Regions from separate parts of the Homo sapiens genome. Here region 2 is linked to region 1. Evidence: promoter capture Hi-C in human tissues and cell types (Jung and others, 2019). All regions are on one chromosome and are shown on one strand. The core of a region is centred on a gene start or on the middle of the fragment in contact, and the rest is flanking DNA. Distances in the headings are between cores, read along the strand shown.

The links. The method cuts DNA at HindIII sites, captures the fragments that hold promoters and counts their contacts. A contact is called where the count stands out against the background at its distance.
Region 2: a fragment that was not itself captured here is called in contact with the fragment with the promoter of C1orf159 in region 1 in 1 of the 25 tissues and cell types used here (dorsolateral prefrontal cortex).

The regions. Positions count from the first base shown.
Region 1 is chr1:1,114,324-1,117,588 of GRCh38, forward strand. C1orf159 (chromosome 1 open reading frame 159) reads right to left here and starts at 1,766. Exons shown (of 10, transcript NM_017891.5): 1 at 1,737-1,766. RefSeq lists silencers at 1,457-2,056, 2,227-2,346, 2,387-2,436. The HindIII fragment of the contact is 14,802 bases long and covers 1-3,265 here.
Region 2 is chr1:1,582,598-1,585,845 of GRCh38, forward strand. No RefSeq gene overlaps it. Among named protein-coding and RNA genes, the nearest start is that of SSU72-AS1, 9.3 kb to the left of the region's middle. The HindIII fragment of the contact is 3,924 bases long and covers 1-3,248 here.

The sequences.
Region 1 (3,265 bases), core at 516-3,015:
CTTGCCCCCATGCCTGGATAATATTTTTTATTTTTTATAGAGACGAGGTCTCCCTATGTTGCCCAGACTGGTCTCAAGCGATCTCCCACCCCAGCACCCACAGCGCTAGCTGTTCTTTAAATGAGCTACCCAGTAAGTCAAAGCTCAGGTGGAGAGCAGCCGCAAGGCAGGGAGCAGCTGGGAGGTATCTCAGGGGTTCCCGGGATGCTGCCTGTGCACCCCAGGGCTGAGGTGACTGCGTGTGGAAACACCTGCCTGACTGGCTTTTAGGAGGAGTACTGGGGGCGGGATGTGTGTCAGGAAAACAACGTTTCTGTATAATTCATAAACATGTATGTTAAAAACAACGTGGCCATGACGGATCCTGGCTGAATGCAAACGGGGAACATAAACCTGAGTAATCAGGCGCATCACTGAACATCCCAGGCGGCCGCCCCTACCCTGGGGCTCAAAACCGGCTCCCTCTGCGAGGGTTTCCCAGGTTAAGCCATCAGGAAACAGGAAGACGCCTAAGAACGATACACTGGACTTTGGGGACTCGGAGGGAAGGGTGGGAGGGGGACAAGGATAAAAAGCTACAAATAGGGTGCAGTGCGTACTGCTCGGGTGATGGGAGCACCAAAATCTCACAAATCACCACTAAAGAGCTTACCCATGTAACCAAGTAACCAAACACCACCTGTACCCCAGTAACTTACGGAAAAATAAAAGAGGAAGACGCAGCTCTGCCTTCTCTGCACACCCTGGTAATACTAAGAAAAATGAAAACCAAAAAAAGGAGGCCAAGTTTGACATCCTGAAATTTAACAGGACGAGGCGGCTAAGAATTCAGCCACAAAATAGTTCCCGGGGAAGAAGCCGCGTTTGCTTTGAAACGCGGTAAGAAATGCCCCCGAACACCTGGGCTTAAATTACACCCAAACTCAATCATCGACTCGCTGCCACCGGAACACGCGCTCCCGAAAAACTGCACCCCGACTAGCCCTCGGCTACTCCAGGTGACAAACGGACAAAAACAAATCCTAAAGCCTCGCGGGAAAAAGACCTGAATCGTGGCCGACTTCTAGGACACCGGGGACCGCGCCGGTGCCCCCACTCCCGGCTGCCGGGAAGGCGAGGCGAACGCGCCCCCTTTCTTCCCCCGGGCGCCCGTCCCATCCCCTCCCCAGGGACCCCCTCCCTGCCCCGAGAACCCCCTCCCCTCCCCAGGTGCCCCCTCTCCCCCAGAGACCCCCTCCCCTCCCCAGGGACCCCCTTCCCTGCCCCGGGAACCCTTCCCCTCCCCAGGGACCCCCCTCCCTCCCCAGGGACCCCCTCCCCTCCCCAGGGACCCCCTTCCCTGCCCCGGGAACCTTTCCCCTCCCCAGGGACCCCCCCTCCCCGCTCCGGGAACCCCCTCCCCTCCTTAGGGACCCCCTCCCCACCCCTCCCCGGGGTCCCCCTGCCCTCCTCAGACGCCCCTTCCCCTCCCCAGGCGTCCCGCTCAGCCCGGGCGCCTTTCCCCCATAGGACCGCGGCCAGGCTCGTTGGGAGGCGGCGACGAGGACGCGGGCCCAGGCGCTGGCGGCTCCTCCGCGCGCCGCACAATGGGGGACGCGCAGGGAACGTCCCTCGGGCCGGGCCAGGGCCGCCGACCTTTGTCTGCCTCTCGCACTCCCTGCGCCGACCCGGCCGCCCAGACGGACCCCAGCGCCCCAACCCGCTACCCTCACGCCTGCCCCCAGCCCCTCACTCACCCCGGCGCCCTCCGGGTTTCTCTTTCGTACACCCCGCCCTCAGGCGGTGGCGCCGCGCCCCCTGGGACTTGTAGTCTTTCTTCCGCCCCGGCCCCGGCGCCAGGCCCCGCAGCTCCCAAAGAAAACTACAACTCCCGGCGGCCCGCGCGAGAGCCGCCCTCGCCTGGTGGTACCATCGCGCGCGGCCGTGGGTGGGGCGCCGGGGCGGGGCGCGAAGCGCCCTGGGAAATGTAGTCCTAGAAGAACCAGCGCATGTCTCGGGTCCCTGACACGGAGGGACTACATTCCCCCGGATTCCTCGCGCGCCGGCTGCTTGGCGTTGCCGGGAGACGGGGCGGGGCGTCGTCGGGGTCTCCCGGGCGACCGCACAAGCGTCGGCGTCCTTAGCGTTCCGCCGGTTTAGGCGGAGGCGGAGGCGGAGCGTTTGGGGGCGGCCGGGGCGGCTTCGGCTTCATCGGAGAAGGCGGCGCGGCTGCACCAGGTTTGGCCGCGGGCGCGCGGGGCCAGCGCCCTCCAGACCCACGGAGCGCCCCGAGCGCCTCGCGAGCCGCCGCCAAATGCGCCCCAGGTCCGCGGCCGGCGCCAGTGCTGGGACCTCGGCGGCCGGTGTCGGAGCGCGGCGGGAGAGACCCTGCCTTGGGTGCGGGACTGGGACGGCTCGGACCCAGAGGGCTCCCGGGGCTTCGCCTCTCGGACGGGTCAGGGCTCTGCGGTCTCAGGACGCTCCCCCGTGAGTCTCGGCGGCCCCGGGGTCTGGGCGGCGTCGCTGCCCCACAGGCCGGGCGCGTGGGTTTTTCCGGGGCTCTGCCTCTGAGCCACCCTCGGAGAAAAGACAGCTCTGTGCGTCCCGCGGCGCCCGCAGCTTTCGGCAAACATGTTTAAAGGAGCTCCCCGAAGGAACTGGGGACGTCCGTCCGCTCATCAAAGGCTTCAATCCTGTCGGTGTCCCCGGGCCCTCTCCTAGCTGGGCCAGCGCGCAGGGTGGGGGGGCGCTGCAGGTGTCGCGGCCCCCCCCAACCTCCGCAGACCCTTCCAACCCCTCAGACCCCCCAAAACCCCCAGATCCCCCAACCCCCCATATACCCCCAACCCCTCAGACCCCCCAACCCCCCAGACCCCCCAACCTCCCAGGCCCCCAGACCCCCCAGCTCCCTTGCTCCCGGGAGCTCCCAGGCCCGTCCTGCATGCGCCTTGGGGTTGTTCCTCCTTGATGGACGCCGCCTCCGGGTTCCATCCCAAGTTTAAATGCCAGAGATTTCAATGGAAATAAAGCCCCCATCTTAACAGCGTGAGGATGTTTTGTAAACAGTATTGGGGACAGCTGGGGAAGTCACATTTGTGTCTTCTCTTTAGAGGGACAGTGTTCGCCTGAGGGTCCATCCCAGGGTTCCCTCAGGGCCTCTGGAGGAGTTGATGCCACCAGTGTCTGGCCGTGGGACACCTGGGCGTGGGCGCCCAGCACCAGGGGTTCGCTGACAGCTGCAGGGTTTCCGGCCATGCGCCCGCGGACGTGCAGCTTCTGTGTCGGT
Region 2 (3,248 bases), core at 530-3,029, 470 kb after region 1:
CCCCATCCCACCAGTGCAGAAAACATGGTGCCCCTATTATAGTGGATCCAGCCTTGAAGAGGCCTCACCCTGCCTCAACACCTCTTCCCCAAGACCCTGACGGCCAGGACAGTGTCTTTTTGCCTTCAGACTAGGCAGAGTGAGGTCCCCTGAGAGAGATAAATATTGTTATTTCCCCACCCAAAGTTATTTGCATTAGGTGAAAAATGGCCACACATTCTTTGTGGTTCCTCTCATCAAGACATACGGTCTCTTTCTCATCCCTTGAATCCGGGCAAAGCCTTGTGATTTGCTCTGATCAAAAGAACTTAGTAGAACTGACGTTGTCCCAGCCCCAGTTCCAGGCCCAGAACCCAAGAAATCTTGCAGCTTCTACTCTCACTCTCCTGGAGCCCTAAGGCTGAAGCAGCCTGCTAGACAGGCCACCCCAACCAACAACCTGTCACCTGCCAGACAAGTGAGTCAGGCTGTCCTAGACCATCCAGGTGTAGCGGATGTGACAAATGACCACAGCTCCATGAGGGTCCGCAGGTGAGCCCAGTGCAGATTGCCAACCCACAGAATTGTGGACAAATACGTGACCTGTTTTTGCTGCCAAATTTTGGGATGGTCTGTTACACAGTGAAGGCTAGCTGATACGCAGTTCCTCATTTCTCCTCTGGTGATGAGATCCACTTTCATTTCAGGAGGCAGTGTGCCAGTCTCAGTAGATGGAACACAATCCACAATCGGTCTATTCAACCATGACAATTTTATTCCCTACTGTTGGGGAAGTGTCTCGAGTCAGACCCTCCCCACCAAGTGCAAAGAGAACGCATCTCAGCTATCCCTTCTGCCAGCCCAGCCTACGGGGGCCAGATGTATCTTCTGGGCTCTTAGAAGTGTCAGTCGGTGCCATGGGGACTGCTCCTACAAGTCTGGCGTGGATGCCCCCAGGTACACCCTGAGGTCCGAGAGGGTGGACTGCACAAGCTTGTCCAGGATGGCCCTTGCTGCAGCTACCGGTAGGCTGCGTGCCAATAACAGCCGCCAAAGGAGTAGAAGTAATCACCAACCTGGGTCCCTTTGATCCAGGACATCCGTGGGGCACACTGTCTGGGTCTTCCTAGGTCATGTCCACGAGGTTCTGCGTCTCGGCTGGGCCCAGCACAGATGGTGGCAGCTACGTGAGCAGCTCAGTGGCACGCCGTGCACCTGGGAATGCAGCCCGACTGGGCACTCCCGCCCTGCACACCGTTGCAGGGCCTGGGACCCGGGGCTGCCCCAGCCCACATCCACCCTGCCCGATCGATGCTCCTCCTGCACACAGCCCCGTTACCACTGCCACTGCCCCAAAGCATAAAAATTTTTTTTTTTTTTTTGAGATGGAGTTTTGCTCTTGTTGCCCAGGCTGGAGTGCAATGGCATGATCTCAGCTCACCACAACCTCTGTCTCCCGGGTTCAAGCAATTCTTCTGCTTCAGCCTCCCGAGTAGCTGGGATTACAGGCATGCGCCATTAATTTTGTATTTTTAGTAGAGATGGGGTTTCTCCATGTTGGTCAGGCTGGTCTCAGACTCCAGACCTCAGATGATCCGCCCGCCTCGGCCTCCCAAAGTGCTGGGATTACAGGCGTGAGCCACCGCGCCCGCCAATTAATTTTTTTTTTTTTTTTTTGAGACGGAGTCTCGCTGTGGCCCAGGCTGGAGTGCAGTGGCGCAATCTCAGCTTACTGCAAGCTCCATCTCCCAGGTTCACACCATTCTCCTGCCTCAGCCTCCCGAGTAACTGGGACTACAGGCACCCACCACCACACCCGGCTAATTTTTTGTATTTTTAGTAGAGACGGGATTTCACCGATTAGCCAGGATGGTCTCAGTCTCCTGACCTTGTGATCCACCCACCTCAGCCTCCCAAAGTGCCAGGATTACAGGCGTGAGCCACCGTGCCCGGCCAGTTTTGGGGTTTTTTTGTTTTTGTTTTTGTTTTTGAGACAGCGCCTTGCTGTGTCGACCAGGCTGGAGTGCAGTGGCATGATCTTGGCTCAGTGCAACCTCTGCGTCCCGGGTTCAAGCAATTTTCTTGCCTCAGCCTCCTGAGTAGTTGCAATTACAGGCGTGTGCCACCACGCCTGGCTAATTTTTTGTATTTTTAGTAGAGACGGGGTTTCACCATGTTGGCCAGGCTGGTCTCGAACTCCTGACCTCGTGATCCTCCCACTTTAGCCTCCCAAAGTGTTGGGATTACAGGCGTGAGCCACCGTGCCTGGCCACCCATCAGTTTTAAAATGTGCCTGAGTTAGAGCAGAACAGAAGCTGAGAAAAATTAAAAAGAAAGATAAATAAGTACAGTTTGCCCAAGTTGGGCCATAATATAGCCTGCTGGAGAACCAAAAAATCTGCTGTGACTTAATGTTTGAGAATCCCATTTCATTTCTTCTTATTTTCTGAAGAGCAAAGAAGCTTCCATAGATCCTATCAGGAATTGTCAAGCACATGGACCACTGTTTCAGATGGTGGCGACAGACCCAGTAACTTTCGTTGTTGTTTTGTTTTCTTTTGAAACAGAATCTCACTCTGCAGTCCAGGCTGGAGTGCAGCGGTGCAATCTTGGCTCACTGCAACCTCTGCCTTGTGAGTTCAAGCGATTCTCCTGCCTCAGCCTCTAGACTAGCTGGGATTACAGGTGCATGCCACCATGTCCAGCTAACTTTTTTTGTTTGTTTATTTGTTTGTTTGTTTGTTTTGAGACGGAGTCTTGCTCTATTGCCCAGGCTGGAGTGCAGTGGTGCAATCTCGGCTCACTGCAAGCTTCACCTCCCGGGTTCATGCCATTCTTCTGCCTCAGCCTCCCAAGTAGCTGGGACTACAAGTGCCCGCCACCACGCCTGGCTAATTTTTTTTTTGAGATGGAGTCTCGCTGTGTCGCCCAGGCTGGAGTGCAATGGCGCAATCTCAGCTCACTGCAAGCTCTGCCTCCCAGGTTCACGCCATTCTCCTGCCTCAGCCTCCCAAATAGCTGGGACTACAGGCACCCGCCACCACGCCCGGCTAATTTTTTGTATTTTTAGTAGAGACAGGGTTTCACCGTGTTAGCCAGGATGGTCTCGAACTTCTGACCTCGTGATCCACCTGCCTCGGCCTCCCAAAGTGCTGGCATTACAGGTGTGAGATACCGCGCCCAGCCAAGACTCTTTTTTTAAAAACAAACAAGCAAACAAAAATTATCTGGACATAGTAGAACCAGCCTGTGGTCCCAGCTACTGAGGA